Linked DNA regions of Homo sapiens: all the other regions are linked to region 1. The links are contacts of gene promoters, found by promoter capture Hi-C in blood cells and fetal thymus (Javierre and others, 2016). All regions are on one chromosome and are shown on one strand. Each heading gives the region's core, a stretch centred on a gene start or on the middle of the fragment in contact. The rest is flanking DNA. Distances are from core to core; before and after follow the strand shown. Region 1 holds the start of LIMS1 (LIM zinc finger domain containing 1). Region 2 has its middle 2.5 kb from the start of RANBP2. Region 3 has its middle 23 kb from the start of SULT1C4. Region 4 has its middle 7.6 kb from the start of SULT1C4. Region 5 overlaps LIMS1 (LIM zinc finger domain containing 1). Region 6 overlaps RANBP2 (RAN binding protein 2).

What was found. The method cuts DNA at HindIII sites, captures the fragments that hold promoters and counts their contacts. A CHiCAGO score of 5 or more calls a contact.
Region 2: a fragment that was not itself captured here is called in contact with the fragment with the promoter of LIMS1 in region 1 in 1 of 17 cell types (neutrophils); the score reaches 5.5 in neutrophils.
Region 3: a contact is called between a fragment that was not itself captured here and the fragment with the promoter of LIMS1 in region 1, in 1 of 17 cell types (endothelial precursors). The highest score is 7.7, in endothelial precursors.
Region 4: a contact is called between a fragment that was not itself captured here and the fragment with the promoter of LIMS1 in region 1, in 1 of 17 cell types (megakaryocytes). The highest score is 5.0, in megakaryocytes.
Region 5: a fragment that was not itself captured here is called in contact with the fragment with the promoter of LIMS1 in region 1 in 1 of 17 cell types (neutrophils); the score reaches 7.1 in neutrophils.
Region 6: a fragment that was not itself captured here is called in contact with the fragment with the promoter of LIMS1 in region 1 in 2 of 17 cell types (monocytes and total B cells); the score reaches 7.3 in monocytes.

What each region holds. Positions count from the first base shown.
Region 1 is chr2:108,532,201-108,536,786 of GRCh38, reverse strand. It overlaps LIMS1 (LIM zinc finger domain containing 1), which reads right to left and starts at 2,317. Exons shown (of 10, transcript NM_001193483.3): 1 at 2,193-2,317. The coding sequence starts at 2,224. It overlaps GCC2-AS1 (GCC2 antisense RNA 1), which reads left to right and starts at 2,568. Exons shown (of 3, transcript NR_135290.1): 1 at 2,568-2,958. RefSeq lists silencers at 2,072-2,671, 3,160-3,454. The HindIII fragment of the contact is 7,547 bases long and covers 1,062-4,586 here.
Region 2 is chr2:108,714,742-108,719,253 of GRCh38, reverse strand. No RefSeq gene overlaps it. Among named protein-coding and RNA genes, the nearest start is that of RANBP2, 2.5 kb to the left of the region's middle. RefSeq lists an enhancer at 1-829. The HindIII fragment of the contact is 8,304 bases long and covers 1-4,512 here.
Region 3 is chr2:108,352,677-108,357,356 of GRCh38, reverse strand. It overlaps the pseudogene SULT1C5P. Among named protein-coding and RNA genes, the nearest start is that of SULT1C4, 23 kb to the left of the region's middle. The HindIII fragment of the contact is 1,281 bases long and covers 2,790-4,070 here.
Region 4 is chr2:108,367,861-108,372,755 of GRCh38, reverse strand. It overlaps the pseudogene GMCL1P2. Among named protein-coding and RNA genes, the nearest start is that of SULT1C4, 7.6 kb to the left of the region's middle. The HindIII fragment of the contact is 395 bases long and covers 2,536-2,930 here.
Region 5 is chr2:108,685,702-108,690,088 of GRCh38, reverse strand. It overlaps LIMS1 (LIM zinc finger domain containing 1), which reads right to left. Exons shown (of 10, transcript NM_001193483.3): 10 at 2,843-4,387. Among named protein-coding and RNA genes, the nearest start is that of LIMS1-AS1, 9.3 kb to the right of the region's middle. The HindIII fragment of the contact is 7,259 bases long and covers 1-4,387 here.
Region 6 is chr2:108,775,213-108,779,894 of GRCh38, reverse strand. RANBP2 (RAN binding protein 2) reads right to left here. Exons shown (of 29, transcript NM_006267.5): 24 at 3,959-4,163; 25 at 2,664-2,765. Among named protein-coding and RNA genes, the nearest start is that of CCDC138, 9.2 kb to the left of the region's middle. The HindIII fragment of the contact is 692 bases long and covers 2,822-3,513 here.

The DNA.
Region 1 (4,586 bases), core at 1,068-3,567:
ACATGGCGAAACCCTGTTTCTACCAAAAAAATACAAAAATTATCCAGGCATGGTGGCGTGTGTCTGTAGTCCCAGCTACTTGGGGGACTGAGGTGGAAGGATTGCTTCAGCCTGGGAGGTCTAGGGTGCAGTAAGTCATGATCATGCTACTGCATTCCACTCCAGTCTGGGTGACTAAGCAAGACACTGTCTCAAAAACAACAACAAACACCTGTCTATTTGTTCGTAGTAGCTTTCTTAATAGCCCAAAACTAACAGCCTGAATGTCCTTCAAACATGTGAACAGTTAAACTGCTGTACATCCATACCATGGAGCACTACTGAGCAACAAAAAGGAACAAACTATGACATGCACAACAAATAGCGTATGATTCCACTTACATGAGATATGAGGTACCAGCAGTAGTCAAAGTCATAGACAGAAATTAAAATGATGGCTGCCAGGGACTGGCGGGAGGAGGGGAATGGAGAATTATTGTTTAATAGGTACAGAGTTTCAGTTTTGTAAGATAAAGATTTCTGGACATGTATGATGGTTACGGATGCACAATAATTTGAATGAACTTATTACTCTCCCTCCAAAAAGTAAATTACTAATGGTAAATTCAGGATGGGAAGGGGATAGGATGCGGAGAGACACTGGACCAGAGAGGTTTGAAGGTCTTAAAAGGAAACTATTATCTCCTTTATTACACTACATATCCGTTATTCTTAATATCTCACAAATACTTTAAATTTTATATCAACTTACTAGTCAATACTTTTTTTTAAGGAAAAAAGTCCATGATGAAGGAGTACAAATTATTGTTATCAAATCTTGAGCTTTGACTCTTTTTTGTTACTTGTGACCAAATGGCAGGCGTGCACTTCTGTAATAGAGCGATGAGCTGAATTAACTTGCTTGTGTCATGAAATACCATTTTTACGGGAAAGAACAACTGACAAACTAGGGTTATTTAAACCTGTATTGCCGGACACTTCCTTGAAACTGAACAAAGTGAGTCTGTCACTTTGAGGAAAACAATTGACAATATTTTGCTCCCAATGATAAAAAGCAAGCTTTCAACCGAAAATGAGAATTTTGGAAAACTTGTAAACACCACCTTGTATCTGACGGCTTTTAACATAAAGACTTTCCTAATGAAATCAATAGCGATGGTAACGAATGTTATTCGGCGCTATTAATGAAATGCGTCAGCTTGAGATCTGCCAAACTCAGTGAGCCAATATCTTCCAAACGACAAATATATGGTGTTACAATGGGTAACAGCTGCATTCAAACTGCAAGACAGACCAAGGAATTTTAACGTAACTGTGTGCAAAGGCCACTGACAGGAGCTTTAGCTGCATTCAAACTGCAAGACAGACCAAGGAATTTTAACGAAACTGTGTGAAAAGTCCGCTGACAGTAGCTTCAGATTCCACGTCCAAACCAGCCTTTGAGAAACTTCCACTTACGTAGTTTTGGTGTAGTAATAAAGAATACCCATAATTATCTGAAACAGCTATTAAGACAGTACTCACTTTTCCAACTACACATCTGTGTAAGATCAGATTTTCTTCATATAAAAACATACCGCAACAGACTGAACTGCAAAGGAGATGGGAGAACGTAGTTGTCTCTACTAAGTCAGACAACTCAAGAGATTCGCAAACTGTAAAGGACGCCAGTCGTCCCACGAACTCTTTTGTTTTAGCAAAACCCTATGTTGCATAAAAATGTGGTATGTACGTTAACATACCACGGATTTATTCAATGAGTTAATAGTAACTTCAGTGTCTCGGTTTTCCTTTCTAGTACAGTCTATGGAGATAGCCACCATTCCAGGTCCTCTAGTCCCAAGAGGGGTCCTGAGACCAAGACGTCTGCGACCCGCTGATCCCTACTGCTAGAAGATAAATGATTAGCTCGGCAAATACTGATTTGTCTTATGGAACTCTCGGAGCAGCGGGGCGGCGTCAGCGCCTGTGCCACCGCGGACACCCGGGAGTGAACAGCAGCCGTCTCCTCCGCGGGCCCGGACGCAGCCACGCCGCCACCCGAGCGCTGGGGGTCGGGGCTCCGGCCGACCGGGGGAGGCCGCGGGGAAAGCCCGGCCGCCCGCCCGCGCCAGGCCCGGCCCGGCCCGGCCCGAAGGCCCGCCGGGAGCTGCGGGGCGGACGTGGCGGGGGCCGCGCGGTGCGGCCCGTACCTGTGGGTCATCCCGGCCGCCACGCCCAGCATCTCTCCGCTTTCGGCCGCCGCCGTCTCTCAGCCCCTCGTCTCCCGGCGCCGCTCCAGCCGCGTCCTAGTCCCTCGCCGCCGCGGCCGGCTACTGGCGGGCCCGGAGCAGGAAGGGGAGGAAGGCCAGGGGCCGGCCGCGCGGGGGCGCGGGAGGGGGGGGAAGGCGAGGCGGGCCGCGCGGGAAGGCGGGGGAGGGGCGGGAGCGGCTGGGCAAGGAGGGGCGGGGACTGGCGGGGCGGGCGCCGAAGGGCGCGGACTGGAGAGGTAGGCGCGGGGGGGCGGGGCGTTGCGGGGCGGGGCGCGCATCAGACCCCGCCCCAACCCGTGGCTCGGGCCCGCCCCCATTTCAGCACCCCAGGCTAGTCTGGGAGGCTGGCGCAAACGCAGCGGGTGGCTGGGGTAGGGGCTCATTGGGAGCCCACGGAGCGCGGCGGCGGCTCGGGGGCCGAGTTCCCTACAACAAGGATGGCGGTGACGGGCGCAGGGAGCGGGGCCCGGCTCTCCTTGCCTCGAGGCTCCTCTGATTCCACTCGCGTGGCTGCGCGGCCCTGGCAGCGGCCTTCGTCCCGGGGGTGGGAGCTACACAGGGTTCCGCCCCGTCCTGGCGAGGACGCCTGAGGGGGCTCTGTGGTAAGGCTCTGTCGGGCAGGCCGGGCTTCCGGGAGGACCTGGTCTGGATCGGTCACCGCTGGGTGCCTGAGCTCCGCATGGAGCCTGCAGCCTTTGTTTAACTTGTGAGTTAAGAAAAGTTAACCTTTCTTGGAGAGTTTCCAGTCTTGCCTCTGCATCCTGTTCTTCCTTGCTAGCTCTCATTTTCTTCACCCATTCCGTCTATCAAAACCTGAAATTTTGGGGCCGGCGCAGTGGCTCACGCCTGTAATCCCAGCACTTTGGGAGGCTGAGGCAGGCGGATCACCTGAGGTCAGGAGTTCGAGACCAGCCTGACCAACATGGAGAAACCCCGTCTCTACTAAAAATACAAAATTAGCCGGGCGTGGTGGTGGCACATGCCTGTAATCCCAGCTACTCGAGAGGCTGAGGCAGGAGAATCGCTTGAACTTGGGAGGCGGAGCTTGTGGTGAGCTGGGAGATCGCGCCACTGCACTCCAGCCTAGGTAACAGGCTCCGTCCCAAAAAAAAAAAAAAAAAAAAGTGAAATCTCCAAAGGATTTAATAGATTTAATAGATAAGACAAGTTATTCATCCTGGGCATAAATGATCTCTCTCAGGATACCTGATTCTGTAACTATAGCTACTCTCTAGTAATAGAATGAAAACTTTGGTCTCCTGCCAGTCGAGGCATGTCGGAGGAAAACACTGGATCTATTTGATGTCCTCACATGAAAGTAAATTCCAAACAAAGCAAATAGTTAAATGTTCAAAAAACAAAAAAAAAAAAAAAAAAAAAGAGAGAGGTTATGAAAATACCAGAAGAAAACAAGGGAAAAAAACAAAAGTAAGGTTGGAGTGGTGAGAGACTTTTCAAAGAGCATATAAACCATAAAATTAAAAATTGATAAATGTAGGCCGGGCACGGTGACTCACGCGTGTAATCCCAGCACTTGGAGAGGCTGAGGTGAGTGGATCACCTGAGGTCAGGAGTTTGAGACCAGCCTGACCAACATGGTGAAACCCCGTCTCTAATAAAAATACAAAAATTTCACCGGTTGTGGTGGCGGGGTTCCTGTAATCCCAGCTACTTGGGAGGCTGAGGCAGGAGAATTACTTGAACCTGGGAGACAGAGGTTGCAGTGAGCCGAGATCGCGCCATTGCAGTCCAGCCTGGGCGACAGAGCAAGACTCTGTCTCTAAATAAATAAATAAAAATTGATAAATGTAACTACATAGAAATCTAAATTTTCTGCATAGCAAATAAATATAACAAACCCCAACCAAGAAAAATATTTGTAAAATGTATGACAAAAAGTTCTAAATTATTAAAAAAGTTCTAATTATTAAAAAAATCAGTACAAAAATGTTCAACTCAGAGAAAAACAGGTTTCTACAGAAAAATACAAATGATTTCTTAAAGTATCATAAAACAAAAATAAAATACAATTTTTCACAAATGCAAAGATGAAAAGTTTGACTATATATTGTTTTGATGAGGATATAGGGAAACCCTTTTTTCCTCCCCTAGAGGAGGCCTCTCTATGTTACCCACACTGGTCTTGAACTCTTGGACTTCAACTATCCTTTTGAATAGCAGGGTTTACGAGTGCACGTCAGCATGCCTGGCTAATTTATTGTTGATAGGAGTATAAATCCATACACGCTTTGTAAAGAACAAGTGGGCAATAGCTATCAATGTAAAATTCAGCTCTTCTTTGACCCAAGATATTCATATTTTGGAATTTATCTT
Region 2 (4,512 bases), core at 101-2,600, 180 kb before region 1:
TTAAGCGTTTTGGTCACTTGTTCTAAATTATAAGTGCGCAATGCATTGGAAGAAAAAAAGCACTCAGGCCAATTTGGTGAACGTGTAAATTGGAACAAAGTTTCTGGAGATGACTGGTTAAATACGTTGCATCGGACATGTGTGAATACTAAAGCATACATTTTTAAATTCATATCTTATTAAATGAGGGCCAGGCGTGGTGGCTCACGCCTGTAATCCCAGCACTTTGAGAGGCCACGGCGGGCGGATCATGAGGTCAGGAAATCGAGACCATCCTGGCTAGCACAGGGAAACCCCATCTCTACCAAAAATACAAAAAATTAGCCGGCCGTGGTGTCGGACGCCTGTAGTCCCAGCTACTCCGGAGGCTAAGGCAGGAGAATCGCTTGAACCCGGGAGGCGGAGGTTGCAGTGAGCCGAGATTGCGCCGTCTGGGCGACAGAGGGAGACTCCGTCTGAATTTAAAAAAAAAAAAAAAGGGAGATTTAGAACTGCATAATGAAAAAGACCACAAATATTAAGTTTTGGACAATTACAATTTTTTAAACAGTCATCTCGGCGGGGGATTGGTTCCAGAACCACCGTCTTATGCCAAAATCCACGCATTCCGCCGGGCGCTGTGGTTCACGCCTGTAATCCCAGCACTTTGGGAGGCCGAGGCGGGCGGATCACCTGAGGTCAGGAGTTCGAAACCAGCCTGGCCAACATGGCGAAAGCCCATCTCTACTAAAAATACAAAAAATTACCTGGGCGTGGAGGTGGGCCCCTATAATCCCAGCTACTCGGGAGGCTGAGGCACGAGAATCGCTTGAAACTGAGAGGCGAGGGTTACAGTGAGCTGAGATCGCGCCACTGCACTCAAGCCTGGGCGAGAGTAAGACTTCCTAAAAAAAAAAAGAAGAAGAAGAAGTCCGCGCATTCTCAAATCCCGCAGTCAGTCCTGCGGGTGGAACACTTAGAGGAAAAGTCAGACCTCTCTATATGCAGGCCCCTCCAATACTGTATTTTCTGTCGGCTTATAAGCGGGCCCAGGCAGTTCAAACCCATGTTATTCAAGGGTCAACTGTGTATATAGGAATAGCCATTCGCCTGGCACAGTGGCTTAAGCTGGTAGCCCCAGCACTTTGGGAGGTCGAGGCGGGAGGATCCCTCGAGTCCAGGAGTTCCAGGTTACAATGAACTGTGATAGCGCCACTGCATTCCATCCTGGGCACCAGAGTGAGACCCTTGTCTCAAAAAAAAAAAAAAAAAGGAAAAGGAATAGCCCCCCCAAATCTATATATATTTCACTAGCAGAATAACAGAACATACCAAAATTTAACAGTAATAATGTAAAGATTTTGAGCCGTCTGTATTTTCCAAATCTTCAAAAATGTCTATTTTGGGAATTTGGATATTAAAATCTTACTTTTAAAACAAAATTTAACAAAACATTTTTAATAGTGAGAACCTTTTAGATTTTAAAAGCTCACATTTGTGTAAACATTACAGTCTGAATTATGTGGACAAATATCAAATGCGTTGACATTTTTAACTGGAAATTTGGGCTATTTTGGTTGTGGATAATTTTTTATCCTTTTTGTTTTTCCATATTTTCTAAATTTTGATATAATGAACAAGTATTGCCTTTCTAAAAAAGGAAAAACAGCATTTTGTTTTATTTCAACAATATTGGATGTGAATAAAAGAAAAGAAAAAGATGATTCTGAGCTTACCAGTGTGTGTGACCCACATTAACAGAAATGACATGTAAAGAAAATCTAGTTTGGAGTGGAAAATCCTATTTTAGGTAGTTGATTTCTTTCACTTGAGGTACCATTTATATATCCATGTGGGGATAGCCTAGTAGGAAGATGAAATGGTAGGACAGAGATCTTGATGGAAGTCAGTAGTTGCGGCACAGTTCTGAGGCCCAGCTACTCCAAAGGCAGAGGGGGAAACATCCCTTTAGCCCAGGATTGGAGACTGCAATGAGTTATGTTCATGCCTTTGCACTCCAGCCTGTGGAAGAGAATGAGATTCCTATCTCTAAAACGAAAAGAGGGCCAGGCACGATGGCTCACGCCTGTAATCCCAGCACACTGGGAGGCCCAGATGGGCTGATTGCTTGAGGCCAGGAGTTCAAGGCCAGCCTGGCCAACGTGTTGAAACCCTATCTCTACTAAAAATGCAAAAATTAACTGGGTATGGTGGTGCATGCCTGTAATCCCAGCTTCTTTGGATGGCTGAGGCACCTGAATTGCTTGAACCTGGGAGGTGGAGGTTGCAGTGAGCTGAGATCGTGCCAGTGCACTCTAGCCTGGGCAACAGAGCAGACTCTGTCTCAAAATAATAATAATAATAATATTTAATTAATTTAAAAATAAAAACCAAAAGAGAAGATCTGATGGACTTAAAAGTCATATATCTCAGGTGATAGGTGAAACCACAAGTTTGCCTTGAAAAGTGTGTTGATAACAATAGCCATAGCTAACAAGTACTTGCTGTGTTCCAAAGCTCTTTCTGTTAGCACTTCATTTGTATTAATATCATTCTTCCACCAACTTTGTAAGGGTACTGTTATTATCCTCAGTTTTTACAGATAAGGAAAGCAAAAGACAGCCAGGCACCATGGCTCATGCCTGTAATCCAAAACTTTGGGAGGCTGAGGTGGGAGGATCACTTGAGCCCAGTAGTTCAAGACCTGCCTGGGCAACATAGCAACACCCTGTGCTTACAAAAAAAAAGAAATTAAAAACTAGCCAGGCATGGTGGTGCCTGCCAGTAGTCCCAGCTATTTGGGAGACTGAAGCAGGAGGATCTCTTGAGGCTAGGTGTTGGAGGCTGCAGTGAGCTATGTTCACTCCACTGCACTCCAGCTTAGGTGACAGAGAAAGACCCTGTCTCCAAAAAAAAAAAAAAAAAAAGGAAACCAAGAGAATGAGCACTGAAGCAACTTGCCCAAACATACTCACCTAGTAAAAATGGTATCATTAATCCATTTATGTTGAATATATCGAAAAGGAGTGCCCAAAGAGAGAACCTTCTTTTTCCTTCTTTCTTTTTTTTTTTTTTTTGAGACGGAGTTTCACTCTGTGGTCCAGGTTGGACTGCAGTGGCACAATCTCGGCTCACTGCAACCTCTGCCTCCCAGGTTCAAGCAATTCTTGTGCCTCAGCCTCCTGAGTAGCTGGGATTACAGGTACATGCCATCACACCCGGGTTATTGTTGTATTTTTAGTAGAGACGGGGTTTCACCGTGTTGGACAGGCTGGTCTTGAACTCCTGGCCTCCAGTGATCCATCTGCCTCGGCCTCCCAAAGTGCTCGGATACAGGTGCCCGGCATCCACCGCGCCCAGCATCCAAAGAGAGAATCTTCTTGAGGAACTCAAAAGACTTTTCTCTTTTGGATAAGCAGTTCATATTTCTGCATTTATTAGGGATTTTCACATTTTACTTCATTTTACACTACATTTTTTTTTTGTTCAGTGGTATAACATTTTCACCAAGGCACTGAAAATTCCATTTGCATTAGTGTCCAATGTCATATATTCCCTACCATGTTGCAAATACAGTTCATTTGTCCAGCTTTATTGAGGTATAATTCACAAATAAAAATTGTATACATTTACTAGGTACAACATGATGTTTTGCTGTCCAAGCATACCTCATTTTATCGCACTACATTTTATTGTACTTCACAGATACTATGTTTTTTACAAATTGAAAGTTTATGCCCACCCTGTGTCAAACAAATCTTTCTGCATCATTTTTCTTTTTTGAGACAGAGTCTCACACTGCCACCCAGGCTGGAGTACAGTGGCAAGATCTCAGCTCACTGCAACCTCCTGTGGCAGGCCAGGTCTCACTAATGCAGACTTTCATAACAACTGTTTCAGTAATTACTGAATGAAGTTAAATACTAAAAGCCAGTGCCCTTATACAAAGGCTGGGATGTAACAAAAGGCCATCAAAACTTTTGCCTAGGCCTGTCCTGGGCCTTAAAGCATGACACAATAATGAAGGAATTTTTTTTTTTTTTTGAGATGGAGTCTTCCTCTGTCACCCAGGCTAGAGTGTAGCAGCAGGATCTTGGCTCGCTGCAACCTCTGCCTCCCAGGTTCAAGTGATTCTCCTGCCTCAGCCTCCTGAGTAGCTGGGATTACAGGCATGCATGACCACGCCCGGCTAATTTTTGTATTTTTAGTAGAGATGGGCTTTCACCATGTTGGCCAGGCTGGTCTCGATCTCTTGACCTCGTGATCCACCCACCTTAGCTTCCCAAAGTGTTTGGATTACAGGCATGAGCCACCGCACCCAGCCCATAACGAAGGAGTTCTCAACAGGACCCATTTAGGATTAAACCAGTTTTATTGCGGGTCTGAAGAAACTCCCCAGGTCTCCACAGACAAGTTTATTGGGGGTCTGAAAGAACTCCCCAAACCTCTGTGACTTAGCGGGAGGCAAGATAAGGGTAATCACCCCGGCACCGAGGGGGAGCTTGCAGTGAGCTGAGATTGCGCCATTGAACC
Region 3 (4,680 bases), core at 2,181-4,680, 180 kb after region 1:
AACTTCCAACAAAGAAAAAAACTCATGTTCAGATGGCTTCAATAGAGAATTCTACCAAATATTCACAGAATAAACACCAATTCTTCTCAAACTCTTCCAAAAATTAGAAAGAGAGAGAACACTTTCTACTTCATTCTATAAGGCCAACATTACCCTAATACCAAAGCCAGAGAAATACATAACGTGCAAAGAAAACTATAGACCAATATTCCTTATTAATATAAATGCAAAATCCTCAAAAAAAAAAAAAATAAACTGAATCCAGCAGCACAGAGAAATGATTATACACCATGATGAAGTGGGATTTATTCCAGGAATGCAGGATTGATTCAACATATCAAAATCAATGTAATGTACAATATTAACAGAATTATTAATAATTTGAAAACACGTAATTTTCTTAATCAATGTAGAAAAAGCAATTGACAAAATCCAACATCTTTTCATGAACAAAATAAAACAAATTAGTAATAGAAGATGTTCTAGACTGAATAATGGTCTTCTTAAAGATTTCCATGTTCTAATCTCTGGAACCTGAAAATACTACCTTGTGTGCCAAAAAGGAGTTTGAAGATGTGATTAAATTAAGGATCTTGAGAAGATTTTCCTGGATTCTGGGTGGTCACTAAGTGCAATCACATGTATCCTTATAAGAGGGAGACAGAGATTTGTCCACAGAAAATAAGAAGGCAGTGTGACCATGGAGGCAGATTAGAGTGATGTGGCTACAAGACAAGGTATGCCAGTAGCTACCACAAGCTAGAAGAGGCAAGGTACAAATTGTCTCCTAGGGCCTCTGGAGGGAGCCCAGCCCTGTTGCAACCTTGATCTCGGCCCAGTGAAACTGATTTTACATGTCTGGCCTCTGTAAAAGAGTAAATATGTATTGTTTTCAGCCACCAAGTTTGTGTTAATTTGTTGAGGGTTTTGCAGCCATAGGAAATGAATGCAGATCTGTTAGTCACATTACAAAATCCAACATATTTCCATGATAAAAACACTCACCCATGTAGGAATAGAAGGGAACTTGTTGATTCTTATAAAGGGCACTTATGAAAGTCCCACAGGTAACATTATACTTATGGTGAAAGAGAGATATTTGCTTTTAAAATCTGGAATGAGGCAAGGATGTCTGCTCTCACTATTTCTAATCAACATTGCACTTGAGGCCCTAGTCACAAAACTTGCATAAGAAAAAGATATCCAGATTGGAAGGGAGGAAGTATAACTATCTCTATTTGCATATGACATGATCTTATATCGTCATGAGCCATATGACATTTTGGTCAACAATGGACTGCATATATGAGAGTGGTTCCATAAGATTATAATGGAGCTATGTAATGGAGAAGGATATACCATCCAGGTTTATGTAAGTACACTCTATGATGTTCACTCAGTGACAAAATTGTCTAATGACACATTTCTCAGACATTTCCCCATCATTATGCAAGGCACGACTGTATACAGAAAACCCTAATGAATCCCTTCAGAACTATTAGAGCTAATAAATAAATTTAGCAAAGTTGCAGATTACATGATCAATATACAAAAATTCATATTTCTTTACACTAATAATGAACAATCCAAAAATTCAATTGAGAAAATAATTCCATTTATTATAGCATTGAAAAGAATAAATATTAAGAAATGAAACCATAAAACATTGTTGGCCAGGTGCGGTGGCTCACGCCTGTAATCCCAGCACTTTGGGAGGCTGAGGCGGGCGCATCACGAGGTCAGGGGATCGAGACCATCCTGGCTAACATGGTGAAACCCCGTCTCTACTAAAAATACAAAAAATTAGCCGGTCCTGGTGGCGGGAGCCTGTAGTTCCAGCTACTCAGGAGGCTGAGGCAGGAGAATCACTTGAACCCGGGAGGCGCAGGTTGCAGTGAGCCGAGATTGAGCCACTGCAGTCCAGCCTGGTGACAGAGCGAGACTCCATCTCAAAAAAAAAAAAAGAAAAGACCTCTAAGAAGAGCCTGTGGTTTGTGTGTGAGGATGGGTCAGCAGAGCAACTGCACTTCAGCACTTTCTCCTGACGAAGTTTGATCACTCCTTTATCTCTGCATTTTCTCCTTAATGGCTATCATCATACCAAATTTGCCTTTCTCTAACTTAAGTTGAGAAAGTTTTTCAAAACTAACTTTATTAAAGGGAAACAAAAATCTGAAATAAAATAAAATAAAGTACATGGAAACGGGTGATTTTATTAATCTGAAGATTATTATTCAGTAGTGTGCCTCCACTGGCTGGCACAATTCCCTGGCTCCAAGGCTTTGGATCCCCTTTCCTGCATGGGTCCTGTTAAAGTCTGTGTCCTTCTAGATAGGATTTATGCATTTCAATCACGAACTCTGAGCCACATAGTTTGTTAGAGTCGCAACCCCAATGCCTGCAGGGGCAGGGCAGTAAGCAGGTGGAGTGAACTTGTTGGCATCTGGTGAGTGCCAGCCCCATTTATAGCAGGAGGCCATGGAGCTCTGGGTGCCATTGGTGCCAGAAATTGGGAGTTTATGGAACATCTCCTGACTTTTACATGTTGACAACTAATTCAAAATTTTTTAAAAACAGCACATCTGCAAGCCATATTCAACCTAAAAGCCACTAGTTGGAAACCTCTGCTCTAAGTGGAGAGCTAGGTGGAATTTTGTCTTTGAGACCAAGGCATTTTCCCTAGGTGGAGTTTAGCCTGGCTCCCACAGCCATGATGTTACTCCAAGCAGTATTAGTTTGCTATTTCTGGGTCCAGAGTTTGAGCTCCTTAAGGGCAGAATCTAGAAGCTTCTCACCTTTATACTCTCCTCAGCTCCTAAGGCATATGCTTATTTATCGAAATCATGAAATTGTGCATTAAGAAACAGACCCAAAACGTGGTGAGAAGACTCATATTCATTTCTCTGTAAGGAGAGACCAGCAAATTGCCACATGCTCCCCCTTCCTGATGTTTTCAAAACAAAACAGTTATATGTGAGAATGTGTGTTGCAATTCCAAAGTTCTGTTTTAAGACAATCCTTAGTAACACAGGACTTGGTGTCAAAAGATTTTAGTACTCACATTGGGTTACGTAAAATTAGAATTCTGCATGTTGCCTAACCATTTCAATGCCCAGTGATCAGAGAGAAAATAAAAGCAAGAACGAGACTTATAGTTCATTCTGTGTCTCCCCACAGAAGCACCTCGAGGGTAGGGGCTGTGTCTGATTCCTCCTTTCCTCTCCAGTATCTGGCACTAGGTCTACAGAGTCAGCTGTGAACCTGTAATACTCATTATTAAAAGTATTAATACTTTTAATACTCATTATTAATACTATTAATATTTTTAGTTCTCGTTATTAGAAGTATTATCTTAGGCTAGTGTCCTTAATCTCTTTTTCACCTGCCTCACAGCATCCATGGCCATAGAAGCCTCCGATTGATCTCAAAGCCCCCCCATCTGACTTTGTATAGATCTTCAAAGTCCCCCCATCTGACTTTGTATAGATCTAAAGATGCCACAGTGTGGGTAGGCTGCCATGACCAGGGGACTCCCAACACACAGAAGACCACAGTCCTTTCCTTAGATCAGCTTTAATCAGAAGTTAGCTCAGAGGTGGAGCCAAATGTGGATAAGACAGCCCCACCTTCCAGGTTAAGACAGGTTTTACATTTTGCTGACTGGTCTGCTCCTTGCTCCCTGGACGTGCTCGGTCCCCAGAGGGACACAGGGAGGGGTGAAGAAAACCTGACTTACTCGGGACCTGTTGGTGCCAACCTGATCTTTGGATACTCTGAGAACAGCTTATAATGTCCATTTCTGAGTTAAAGTTTACAATTATATAAATAGCAAGAACAAATTTTACTGCCTATTCAGACTTGTAATTAGATTTTGCAAAGAATTTGGGCATCCCTCAAACAGGAAAGCTATCATTTTATTGACTTACCGTGAAGTGAGAACAGTCTATGACTAGGGTCAGGGGTCAGTATCTCTTGGCAGATTCCTCCCCTAGAAGCAACCTATAGCATCAGCCTATCCACACACTTTAACATTCCTAAATCTATACAAAATTAGATAGGGAGAGCAAGCTTCAAGATTAATATAAAAAAAGGTAGGAATCTGAGGAAGTTAGGTAGGTGATGACTTTTCAGACCCAACCTTTCATGTCCTACTGATATTTATTTAAAGCAGTACCATGTGCCTGAGATGGAGGTGTTTGTGGTTGGGCAGGCTGGCTTTGCTAATTTTAAATCCACCAAAATATATCATTTTGGCATTGACAGGTGTATTAGTCTGTTCTCAGGCTCCTATAAGGACATACCTGAGACTGGGTGATTTATAAAGAAAAGAGGTTTAACTGACTCACAGTTCCGCATGGCTGGGGAGGCCTCAGCAAATTTACAATCATGGTGGAAAGGGAAGCAAACATATCCTTCTTCACATGATGGCAGCAAAAGGAAGTGCTGAGAAAAAGGGGAAAAGCCCCTTAGAAAACCATCAGATCCCATGAGAACTCACTATGATGAGAACAGCATGGAGGCAACCACCCATGATTCCATTACCTGCCACCGGGTGCGTCCCACAACATGTGGGGATTATGGGAAGTACAATTCAAGATGAGATTTGGGTGGGGACACAGTCAAACCATATCAACAGGAGCAACCAATTTCTCTGACGTGGCAGTAACTCATTACACCCAT
Region 4 (4,895 bases), core at 1,484-3,983, 160 kb after region 1:
ACCTGTAATCTCAGCACTTTGGGAGGCTGAGGTAGGCAGATCACTTGAGGCCGGGAGTTCAGGACCAGCCTGGCCAACATGGTAAAACCCCATCTCTGCTAGAACACAAAAATTAGCCAGGCTTGGTGGCACACACCTGTAATCCCAGCTACTTGGGAGGCTGAGAAACGAGAATTGCTTGACCCCGGGAGGTGGAGTTTGCAGTAAACCAAGATTGTGCCACTGCACTCCAGGCTGGGTGACAGAGAAAGACTGTCTCAAAAAAAAAAAGAAATTTCTAAAATGTAAAAGCACTACTAAAAGAAGATATCTTTTAAGGGGAGGCTCACTGACTTATGTATTTCATAAATTAATGTAAAAAACATGGGGCCTGATGTTTATTTTTCCAAGTAAGGATATTTCCAAAAAAATTTACAATCACACTTCCATTTCATTAAGAAGGACATTTTAACATCAAGTGTGAGAGCATAATCTCAGAGTAAAAAGAAAATTGAATGTACCTAGCTGTATGAAAAACTTGTATTATCCTTAACTTTTACATCTCATTAGTAAATCATACCATTGAAAGATGACATTTGGGATTTCTCAGTAGTGGATTCTGGATTAGGAATTACAGGGAAATGGTCCTGGGTATGTGTCCAGGATCAGGAAGTACTGTGCCATGATCAAATTAGGGCCTCACAGAGGTTTAGAAAGGCCATTAGAGAGAAAATTAATGCATATTTCTTTTACTTTAGGTTATTATTTTAAAAAGTGTTACAAGGAACCACATGGGTTATTAATTGCACTGAAAACAAAATGTTCTTTGGCTACATTGTAACTGGTCAATGTGAGTGATGAGGTAGTCTTTATCACTTGTCTTGACATCTAGCTTTACTTTTCAGAGCCCTGCAGAAAGTACAATACCAGTCAGACCTTTTCATAGTCATTTAATTGCTCATTCTGAACCACTACAAAGTGACTTTTTCCAGCCTGCAATGGTACTTAAAACGTAGCAACAAAAAATACTTCACCATAAAAATACATGTGTAGTGGCCAGGCATGGTGGCTCACGCCTGTAATCCCAGCACTTTGGGAGGCCGAAATGGGTGGATCATGAGGTCAGGAGATCGAGACCATCTTGGCTAACATGGTGAACCACCCCCACTACTAAAAATACAAAAAGAAATTAGCTGGGCATGGTGGTGAGCACCTGTAGTTCCAGCTACTCGGGGGGAGGCTGAGGCAGGAGAATGGCATGAACCCAGGAGGTGGAGCTTGCAGTGAGCTGAGATCGCGCCACTGCACTCCAGCCTGGGTGACAGAGCGAGACTGTGTCTAAAAAACAACAACAAAACAAAACAAAACAAAACAAAAACAAAAAAAGTGTAGAAAAGCTTGATGAATGTATGCTGAAATGTTAAAGTTATCTCTAGAAGATGGGATGACATATGACTTAATATACATCTGGAATCTTCAATAAGTATATATTATTTTATAATATGAAAGTTATTTAAAAATTAGAACAGTTTATAATTTAAATATAATGGGAAACTTTTGGAGATTCAAAGTGTCTCAAAGTTGATTTTCTTCTAACATCTTAGTGAGAGATGAATTATTATGAGGTCACTATAATATATCAGGAAACATGAGCTAGGAAAGTTCTGTAATTTTGTTCTGGACAAATGAATGAGAGATCAGAAGAGTCTGGTGTTCGGATTCCTACCTCTGTGTTAATTGTATCTCTTTGAGGAGGGGTTGCAATGTTGCAGGTGTCTTCCTAAACTCTTTACATGTAATAATTCATTTACTGTCCACAACATCTACTTGAAGTGGATACTAATATTCTTCCCATTTTATATAAGATACAACAGAAGAACAGAGAGGTTGAGTAACTTGTCCAAGGTAATACACCCCATCAGTGACATTACCGGTATTTGAATGCAGGAAATTTGGCCACTGCCCTAAGTATCAACAGCTGCCTTTCACAAAGATTCTTACTTCTTGATTTGACCTCTGTGATGACTAAGGATGCTCACAAATGACATGTATGCTAAAAGCTGACAGAATAACAATATGTTATAATATCATGGAGTCCACCTATAACAGTTTTTATAGCCATTTTATTGAGAGCCCTAGGCCTCCAGGTATTGTCTTCCAGAGGTTACTGTGCATTGGGATGGGAGGAGGAACAGGGCAGGGAATGGACAGGGATAGTGTCATTGGGTAAGATCATATACTTAATATTGTTATTTATTATGTATTACATGAGGTTCAGTTATTTGTTCACATTGCTGCCTCGCACCACTCTGTCATAATCTTCACAAGGGCAACCACTATGATTTATTTCTTTCTGCTTCCTCATTACCTTAGCATGTACTTGATACATAGTAGACAATATGGCTAAGTATAAATGAAGGAGTGAGTTACATTCATACCTTTCTACCCTGTTGCCCTCAAAACAGACAAAGCATACTAAATGTAACGCCCCAGGTGACTCATCTCAAGCTTATGCTATATCAATATTTATAGGCCCCAGGTGACTCATCTCAAGCTTATGCTACACCAATATTTATTTTACAAACTGGTCTTCAAAGTAAAATCATTTTTAAATAAATAGAACTCCTTCTTTCTCTGCTCTTCCCCACCATCTTCAGAGGTATTGGAAGTGCAGAGAGCTCTGGCTGGAGCCACTGTCTGATTCTTTAGTTCAGACAAAATTTCCAGCGACACCGATGTTCTGAAGTCTAATTTTAAAATCTACACCTTCTCCCTGAACATTTAATCCAGAGGGAAAGTAATATGAAGAAGAGATAGAATTGACCATGTTTGTTTCAGACATACTCAATATTGCCCTAGGAGCTTCCAGCTTCTCTTGTTATTGAAGAATTTATGAGCCAGGTAATTGGGAATTGGTTGTTATATTAAAAGAAAAAAGCAAGATGTAAGCTTCATGGGGTGTGATCTCACTTATGTAAAAAATACGTAAGATGCTGAAAGGAAATTTACAAATAGAACATCTCTGGGTGCAGTTAGAGGTGGTTTTACATTTTAATAAATAATCATGGATTCATTTTAAACTTGGGGAGAATTAAGCTTCTGTTGTCATCTACTGCCACCTTCTTACTAATGTGCCAGGTGATGTTCAAGACAGTTTTTCATTACGGATAGAAACAAAAGAACTTCCCATCACATCCTTTGCACAGGACTTTCAGCTGGAGCTTTGTTTGTGAAATGTATTTATACCAAAGCCCCTGTCCTGTTCCCTAGAAAGACTACTGCTGTTGCCTGCAGACTCACCTTTCCATCATTCACTCATCAACACTTCCTGTGTACCTGATGTATGTACGGCAGGTACAGAGTGAATGCTACTGTGCTTTTCACTTGCTTCAAAATGGAAGACATCTGGAGAGCATCACCTACTGTGCATCGCTTGCTATTGCTGGGAAAGGATGCTTCAGAGTGTTCATGGTCCTAGATCAGGAAGTATATTATTCATCCTGTGATTATGGCAAAAAGATATAATATCATCATTGACATTTCTTATCTCATAAACTAGCTGGAATAGGGCAAGAGACTGTAAGATGGAAAAAGATATATATGAAATGGCATTATATTTAGTATGCTTTGTCTGTTTTGAGGGCAACAGGATAGAAAGGTATGAACGTAGAATGTAACTCATTCCTTCATTTATACCTAACCATATTGTTTACTATGTATCAAGTATATTCTAAGGTAATGAGGAAGCAGAAAAAAATAAGTCATAGTGGTTGCCCTTGTGAAGATTATGACAGAGCGGTGGGAGGCAGCAATGTGAACAAATAATTGAACCTCATGTAATAAATGGTAAATAATAATATTAAGTATATGATCTTACCCAATGACATCGAATTACCACAATGCAAAGAATTTTTGGTGCTCTCCCCTTAAATTACTTGGTAAATATGGTATCAACTCAAAATAAGAGGCATATATGGTTTAGGGAAGGCACTTTGTAAATTCAGAATTTGTGGAGTATTCAATTCTAATTGTTACACTAAGAAGGACATGACAAAAAAATAATGGGAAGTGTGCTGTAGGTTTTTCCTAGGAATAGGAATGGATATTTAGTTTTCCTGTATGTTGGGAAAGTTTTAAAACAATTGATTTCAGATTGCTTCAAAAAGAGTCAAGCTCTAATCTAGTTTTGGGGCAATGGATGCCACATGTTAGGTCAAAAAGGTAGAATATTAATGTGATCACTCAGGTGATCAAAGGATCTGTGCCGGCCTGTTGGAACTGGTGTGCCAGATCAACGTCCTGGGGAGAGGCAATGCTTTAAATTTGTACCAGCTGGCCATTCGCAGTGGCTTGTACCTGTAATCCCAGCACTTTGGTATGCTGAGGCGGGTGGATCACCTGAGGTCAGGAGTTCGAGACCAGCCTGACCAACATGGTAAAACCCGTCTCTACTAAAAATACAAAAATTAGCTGGTCATGGTGGCGCATGCCTGTAATCCCAGCTGCTCAGGAGGCTGAGACAGGAGAATTGCTTGAACCCAGGAGGCGGAGGTTGCAGTGAGCTGAGAGTGTGACACTGCACTCCAGCCTGGGCAACAGAGCAAGACTTTGTCTCAAAAAAACAAAAAAAGGTGTACCACAATATACCATTTACACTGTGATATTTGCCTATGTTCTAGTTCTTTCTTTGTTTAAATTCCACATCCATATAGAAAGACATGCCAAAAATAATACAGCAGCTACTATAGTGACTGAGATCCTGTTTTGCTTCCTGACATATGCTATTTTCATATGCTTCCTGACAATGCTTATGCATTTCTGACATTCATTGTATTTTTTCTTTTGGAATGTTATTTATAGAAAATTACAGCAGATACATAAGAGAAAAATGAGAAGTTTCCCATTCATTTTCATCA
Region 5 (4,387 bases), core at 435-2,934, 150 kb before region 1:
GGAGCAGCTCAAGAATGAGCCCTGGGGTTTATAGACAGGTTAATGGGGTTGCTTCACTGATTAACTCTCTCTCAGCAATTACCCTGTTGCTTTCATTTGCTGAGGCTTCTCTTTTTAGTCTTCCAAGCAGAAAACAGGCTTTCGGTATCTGGCTCTACCATGCATTTCTACATCTGAAGCCAAGAAGTGGGAGGACTGAATTGGAAGAGAAGCAACATGGATTGTTTCTGCCCTCTTGGGACCACAGCTCTGTCAGTTGGAGAAGGTTCCCTCCTACATCTTGGCTCCTGGGCTCCTCTTGGGGCTGGTGCCAGTGCCACTGTGGGACTGCTTGTGGGCTGAGGTATGAGAGAACAGGGAAAAGAAAAATGGGGAGGAACGAACTTCTGGATTCCCTCGGAATGTTAGGAGACCCTTTTCCCGTTACTTGAGCCAGAAATAGAGGGCATCTTCTGGAGCTCTTTCTATCTGCACCCTGGTGCCCACTGCCAGGTTAGTCACGGGATGCCGTAGGGGAAACATGGTTATCTCACCACTGGTTTGGTGGTACTTCAAGTTCTGGTCTTCTTGGGAAAGCTGCCTGCAACTATTTAGTTTTCACTGTCTTCCAATAGCTGCTCCATGCATTCTGTACTGTCTCCTGGCTGGACTCCATGCAGGAAGCCTGTCTCCTCCACAGTGTGCACTCACTCAGGTCATTGTTCAGTTTTATTGTTGGCATTTGTTTGCTTTAATTTTTCAGAATGGCTTCTTAGAGGTCGCTTCTTGTTTGCATAGTTTGTCAAACATCAGTTAAAGCCAATATGGTTTCCACCATCTGCTGCTGGATCTATGTGCAATGGGGAGGAGGCACGCCCCGGGCCATTTGCAAGGGTGTTCCGGCTTTTACTTCCTAACACTGGCACCGGCACACACACAGGCTGTGTGCCCTGGGCATATGGACATGGCTTGGGCTTGCTCTAATCTCTGCCAGCTATGAGCCTTCAGTCCATTTGGGTAGTGTGAAGAGTTTACTAAGCTCCCTCTGGCTCTCCGACCTCCCGGAGCTCCCTCTTACATCCATGACTAATCTGCAGGTCATTTGCTCGTCTCCAAAGGCCCAGAGCCTCAGGCTAGGAGTCAGTGGCCTTTCTTCCTCCTGGTCACTGATATCACCACCTTAACTAGCCATGCTGCAAATCAAAACCTTCCTCACTCTTGCCTCCAGCCCCTGCAACGAGGTGGCAGGGGAGCTTATCTCCACAGGCTGCCCTGCTGGGGGCCGCTGTGTGTGTTATCAACAGCTGGGGTAAATGGGGGTAGCAGCCTGGGCAAAGATGCCACAGACACAGGCTGGTCTTATCCAAGGCTCACTTTAATTCTTCTTTTTTTTCTTTAGGGACAGGGTCTGTCTCACTCTGTTGCCCAGGTTGGAGTGCAGTGGTGTGATCACAGCTCACTGCAGCCTCAATCTCCTGGGCTCAAATGATTCTCCCGCCTTAGCCTCCCATGTAGCTGGGACCACAAGTGTGCACCACCATGCCTTTTTTGATTTTTTTTTTGTACAGACGGGGGTCTCACCAAGTTGCCCAGGCTGTTTTTGAACTCCTGAGCTCAAGTGGTCCTTCTGCTTCAGCCTCCCAAAGTGCTGGGATTACAGGCGTGAGCCACCGCGCCTGGCCAGCTTTCATTCTTAAACACATCCCCATTTGTGCGGTGCCTTTGGTAAAATTACAGAATGCTAAATGGTTTGTCCAGCTATACAGTTACATTTTGGAAAGATTTGTTGACCTCCTCACTTCATCATGCTAGAAGTGGGAACTTTGATTCTCTTTAAAGAATCTGAAGATGAAGGGAAGACCAAAGCATAATTTGAGAGAATGGCAAGACTGAGAAAGGTTTCTGTAGCATGGTGCATGCATGTGTGTGTGCGTGTGTAGGGAGAGGCAAAGGGTTCTGACAAGAGGAAGAGGCTGAGGAAGCAGGCTCATCTCCACAACGTGCTGCTGCCACCCAATCATAGGGTCTCTTGCAGCAATTCCAGTCCTGATCTCACAAACCTCATACCCTAACTACGGTCCCCCTAATTGGGGTCCCTCCTCAGAGCTTTCCTAAGGCTCCCTAACTTTTCCCCTCACCTCGGTTGAGGCCTCCATGGTTTGGACTTGCTGGTTTTGCCTTGCTCTTCCCTTGATAAATACACCATTTATTCCGGTTCAGCCCTTGGAACTTTAAACCTTAACCCAAGCCTCCTCCACCCCACTATATTAGCCCAAGCCTAGAGTATCAGATCTGGATATTTGGGTAAAGATGCAGACAAATTTTGAGTTGAAAAAGAAAGAACTTAATTGCACCATTGCACTCCAGCTGAGGGCAGGGCACAGTGGCTCATTGCCTGTAATCCCAGCACACCATTGCACTGCAACCTCTGCCCCCTGGATTCAAGTGATTCTACTGCCTCAGCCTCCCAAGTAGCTGGGACTACAGGTGCACACCACCACGCCCTATTAATTTTTGTATTTTTAATAGAGATGAGGTTTCACTGTGTTGGCCAGGCTGGTCTCAAACTCCTGACCTCAAGTGATCCACTGGCCTCGGCCTCCCAAAGTGCTGGGATTACAGGTGTGAGCCACTGTGCCTGGACTGTATCTCCTTCTTAATAATAATAATAATTAAAAAACCCAGCATTTACATTGAGTAGAGGGAAGACTACACCATTGTTCTAGATGGTTCAAAATTTGGCTTATCTATAGTAACCAGGTCATTTTATTCATTTACTTGTTTCTATTATATATTCATGAATACTTCAATTTTCATATGTATTTCACATATATACCATTCAAAATAAACAATATACAACAGGTTATTGTTAACAATTATAAACATTTATTAAGCACCAAGAATATACTGTGGTGGTTGCTATATGAAAACATAATTACCAATATAGTATCCCTGCCATTGAGCTTACAATCTAAAACGAAATACAAGGCTATGAGCCTATCTAAAAACTTCCTTAACTTAGAAATGGCTACTTTGGCAAATGAGTGAGGCAAAATGACCTATTATTCAGGTGCAGTGCTAATAAGGCTTTGAATATCATCCAAAGAATGTTTTACTTGTACCCATTGTTCCTGATTATGTTACACTTGCTAAGAAAAACAGTACTTAGAATTTTGGCATGAACAATGAATTATTTCAAATTGTCTTGTAGGACTTTAAACAAAGAGATGCTTACTGGCCTAAGTTTTCCAGCAGCCAGGGAAAGCCCTATTAAAAATATTATGAACTAGACCAAGTTTCTCTTTTAATCCACTTACACTTTTTTTTTTTTTTTGAGACGGAGTCTTGCTCTGTCGCCCAGGCTGGAGTGCAGTGGTGCAATCTCGGCTCACTGCAAGCTCCGCCTCCTGGGTTCAAGCCATTCTCCTACCTCAGCCTCCCGAGTAGCTGGGACTACAAGCGCCCGCCACCACGCCTGGCTAATGTTTTTTTTTGTATTTTTAGTAGAGACGGGGTTTCACCTTGTTAGCCAGGATAGTCTGGATCTCCTGACCTCGTGATCCGCCCCCCTCGGCCTCCCAAAGTGCTGGGATTACAGGCATGAGCCACCACGCCCGGCCCACTTACACTTTTTAAACTTCTTCCTCTTCTCCTATACCTAAGGGCTCCAATGATACTACTTATCAGGGAAGAAAGTACTGTATCTAGATAAACTACCCTTAAGTATTACAGGCTTAGCAAGTTGAATTTCTAGAAAATACTCATTCATAATTTATTTATTTATTTTTTTTGAGACAGAGTCTTGCTCTGTTGCCCAGGCTGGAGTGCAGTGGCGTGATCTTGGCTCACTGCAAGCTCTGCCTCCCGGGTTCCCACCATTCTCCTGCCTCAGCCTCCCGAGTAGCTGGGACTGCAGGTGCCCGCCACCACGCCCGGCTAATTTTTTTGTAGTAGAGATGGGGTTTCAGTGGTAGCCAGGATGGTCTTGATCTCCTGACCTCGTGATCCACCTGCCTCGACCTCCCAAAGTGCTGGGATTACAGGTGTGAGGCACCGTGCCTGTCCACTAATTCATATTTTAAAAGAGGACTGAGCAAAGACAGCAATGGAACCTCTGGCTGCAGGAGATGCCTGGGTATGCCTGATATGTAAACAAACACAAGCAGTCGAGTTCAGGCCATGCATCTTCAAAGTGACGAAGAATATATGTAAATGCTTGTTTTTCTCCTCCATATTTCTCGTGTAGAGGTATATGAGAATTTAGCATCAAGACGCTATACTGCAAACCCTGTTCTGTGTTGCCTATATTCATAGCATAATATTTAATAAATACTCCCAAGGTTGTCATTGCTGGTCACATATTAGCTGACAAAGGCACACTGAAGGGACTTTGATTCTTACTGTAAAA
Region 6 (4,682 bases), core at 1,918-4,417, 240 kb before region 1:
AAGAAGCTAATGCTGGAATGTAGATTTCTTGGTTGGGCTGGTGGAAAGCAGCCTTGGGAGAATCTCACTGACTTCAACTGCCCAAAGGGTATTAGATTGTTAAGCATCCTACTTCTGTATGGGGGAACAATGATGGTCTCACTCTCGCATACCTGCAAGAAGGTGAAAACTAGAAACTTCTCCATCCCATACCTCAATTTAGATGACCAAGTCCCCACTATCTTAGAGGAAAGAAACACCTCTCAACTTTTTATCACTTGCTGAATCACTGTCTTAAAGAACCCTACACCTTCTGCTAAAAACTCTCATGAAAAAGAAAAAATGTCACAGGATACATAACTCAGTACCTTAAAGAACACAATAAAAAATCAACTCTCTTTCAGACAGATTTAATGGAGGGGAAAAAAAAATGTTTTTAAAGAGGAGAGAGGGCCGGGTGTGGTGGCTCATGCCTGTAATCCCAGCACTTTAGGAGGCCGAGGCGGGCTGGTCACTTGAGGTCAGGAGTTCGAGACAAGCCTGGCCAACATGGCGAAACCCCATCTCTACTAAAAATACTAAAAGAATTAGCGGGGTGTTGCAGTGCATGCCTGTAATCCCAGCTACTCAGGAGGCTGAGGCAGGAGATCACTTGAACCTAGCAAGCAGAGGTTGCAGTAAACTGAGATCTGCGCCACTGCACTCCAGCCTGGGCAACAGAATGATCGTCTCAAAAAAAAGAGACAGAAAGACAAAAATTCTTAAGGACATATTGCAAAGGAATGATCTGAGAACAAAAGCCACAGGTTGCATGGGAACTTCCTGAGAACAGTAACCACTGATCTGGATGAGATACCAACTTGGGGGCTCAAAAATAACTGTTCAGGGCCAGGTGCAGTGGCTCATGCCTACAATCCCAGCACTGTGCAAGGCCAAGGTGGCAGGACTGCTTGAGCCCAGGAGTTTGAGACCAGCCTGGGTAACATAGTGAGACCCCTGTCTCTACAAAAAATGTAAAAATTAGCTAGGCATGGTGGTACACACCTGTGGTCCCAGCTACTTGGGAAGCTGAGGTGGAAGGATTGCTTTAGAGCCCAGGAGGTCAAGGCAGCAGTGAGCTGTGTTCATGCCACTGCACTCCAGCCTGGGCAACAGAGTGACATCCTGTCTCAAAAACAAAAACAAAAACAAAATTGTTCAGCAACTTTTTTGCCAAAAGCAAAAATTTAAAAAATAACCCCAAGGGACATGTGGCAGAAGAATTCAAAATTATTTCAAAATAGTGGTTCTCTACCCTGGGAACACATTAGAATCACCCACTTGTAAAAGTATTTGTAATATATCAATATCTGGGTCTCACAGGTCATAACTGGGCCTACAGTAATGTTACTGTAAGTGAATAATTAATTTGGCAAGCTTTGAGACATTAGAGAAAATAAGATTGAAACTCTAAATTATCTGGAAATTTACAAAAGTATAAAGATTCCCTATGAAAACCTGTGGATACAAACAAAACTGACTGCAAGGCATTTACAGTTTCAAATACTATTTTTAACAAGCACAATCTAAATTAACTAAAGTAAGCATTCAATACACAAGAGCTTGGTGAATAAAAATGACAAGTGGTAGTGAGAAGTGAATGTTAATGCATAAGGCTTATTTAGGCATGGTTTCCTCCCGATATGTGAGTACTGCCTACTTTTCACTTTAGTGTCCAATATTGACATAATACTTCAAAGAGGCTACACTGAGTAACAAGGAGCCTATCTATTTTTTTGGGATTTTTTTTGTGTAAGTGTACCTACTATATTGCTTATTTACTGACACATTACCCTTTGATTTCAGGCTATTTCATAAATTAAAAATAAACGACATCAGTGAAGCCATGAATTCCAACATAACATCACATCTGAAGGTAATTTCTAAAAGTTTTATGTGTTTCTAGGTGGCAGGAGCTGTGAAAAAAGTGCAAATATAGAGGAGGAAAGAACAGAATTCTGAACTGCATTAATCATTTAAGCACATATCCTCAATAAAATGTATTCCATAAATCAAACACCTTGTACTAGAACTATTTAAGGGGTGCTATAAAGAGCAATGTGAAAGATATTACAAGAATGAAAAAATATAATGGATGGCCTTACACTAGTAAACCGGATACAATCAGGGAAATGGATTCTTTTCTAGAAATGTTACCAAAATGGATTAAAAATAGAAACTCCACTAAAGAAGATGGGCAAGCACACCAATTATAAACTTAGCACAATAAATTAGCACAACCCTAATACTGAAATCCAAAGATAGTACAAAAAAGAAAACTACAAAATCATATCCTTAAAAAGTATAAACTCACAAAACCTGAAATATTAACAAATCACATATGAAAGTATAGTTAAAAGAGTAAGGATCAAAGTCAGAGTCATTCCAAAGCTCAAAAATGGTTCTGCATTTCAGAATGGGGAGGACTATCAGCATGGCTTATATAAAATTAAGAGAAAATTCTTAAGATTATATTGACGTCAAAAAATAAAGTGTAGAAGCCCTTCATTATTAAAACACTAAAACAAACTGGGGGGTAAGGGAAGAAACTTCTAACTTAGTTATATACTGCAACAAAAAACTAGTTTTTCAGTTGTGCTTGATTCTGTAACAATGTCATTAAAAGTCTCTCCTCTTGATCTTACCTTTAGAACCAAAAGCAAAATCTCCAGAATTACTGGAAGCCAAGTCTGCAAATGAGAGCCCTGTGCTACTTCCAAATCCAAATGAAACTATCTTGCTTTCCCCTGGCAAAAGAAAAAAAGAACAATTTACTATTTAATTTGTGCTGAATATCAAAGCTTTACCCCAGGACCTAGAGAGAACAGTAGAGACTTGTATACTCTGGGATGAGGGGAGTTATTTAAATTCTGTCAAGTTACAAAATACATCCAATTCTGAGCTACTTCAGTATTACTAATTTTACAGGTGCTATTCACAAAGAATACTACAATACTACACCAAATGCATGCCAAAAATTATTTTTTATAAATGAGAAGGAGAGCTATCTATATTAAGCCAGATATTAAACTACAGTTTCTGCTCTATGGAGCCTACTATACTCTAAAGCAAGCATTCAGTCAAAGGCAGGGTTTTAGGAAACATCTGTATAAAAACTTTTTGTGTTCTGTACTATAAATAAGCTCATAAAAACCAAATGTCTCATTTACACTTCGTCATAAGGACTTTTGCGGTCTTCTCTTAATTCTGCTAATGTGAAGCTGCATGATCTCTGAAAGCCCCATGCCTTATTTTCCTCATATGAAAATGTATGAGGTTTTAGGTATGAAGTCGTCTTCCTCTTTTAGCACATTAAGACTCTCAAATGCCTATAAATGTAATATTTGTGACACTGAAGGCTATTTTTAAAAAGTAGGTAAGGTACACAAAGCAATACAACTTAAACTTCCCACTTCCATCCCCAAAATCGAAATGAAAAAGAGAGAAAGCAATACCAAATATGTTACTGTAACTGAATAATTAATTTAACAAGCTTTAAAAGTATTAGAGAAAATAAGAAACATTTAAGTAGTACCATAAAACTTTCTTAAATCCGTAATATTTCTACAATTCCTTCATAATTAAAACACTTTGAATATGCTTGAGTGATAATATAATTCAAACAATATTTAAATGAAAACACTATCACAAAGGAAATTACATGTAACAACACTATTGTCTTTTAAACTCAGGAAAATAGGTCAGAATCATAATGCTTTGTATTCCCTAATAACCACAACTCTATCAATAAAAACATGTTTATTTGTTGGCAACACAGTATAATTTTTCTGGTTATTATTACTACTACTACTAAGATGCCCCTTTATACATATCAAAATGTGTTTTAAAGGGAGTTTTCAGGATCAGCCTTTAAAAGTCTATCTTCTCAAATATAAGGTGTCCCTTATGTAACACATGATAAACATATATCAAGATTTACCTTGGCTTGTAGAATCTGTATCAATTTCCTTTCTAGTTGACAAATCTACAGGTTTGTCCATAGTTTCAGAGGAAACAGATGGTGAACTAATGGATTTGGTAATAGAATCAGGTTCTTCAGATTTACAGAAAGAAGGTACCATCACTTCAGTCCCACCTGTATATACACTGTCAGTTGTGCTAGTTATTTCTTCTGTCTGAGATTTCTGCAAAGAGGAAGTCACAAAATACTATGCCACTTAAATGCTAATTTACAAAACAGATTATATAATCTATTTCAAAGGGAATTGAGAACTTGGGCTTCTGGAGAAGATAGAATAAACACACTTCACCCTATCTCTCCTCAAAACCTATAACTAAATGCCTACACTGAAACATACAGAGCACCTCTAAGAAGCCTTAGAAAGGTGGATAAAAACAGGAAGAATAAGGATCTTGGGACCAGAGAGATAATCTGGAGGTTAAGATCCACACGGAGTTTTTCTGCCACTCCTGTAACCCAGCCTGGGTGCTACAGCAGCCCAAAAAAACTGGAACTGCCAATGGCACAATGTCAGCAAAAAAAGAGACTCTACTTTCTTCTCAAGTGCACAGAAGACATTCACCAAGACAGACCTCACAACATTTAAGAGAACTGAAATTATTCAAAATATTTTCATAAACCATAAAGGAATTAAACTAGAAATCAATAAGAGAATGATATACAGAAGGAAAATCACCAAATA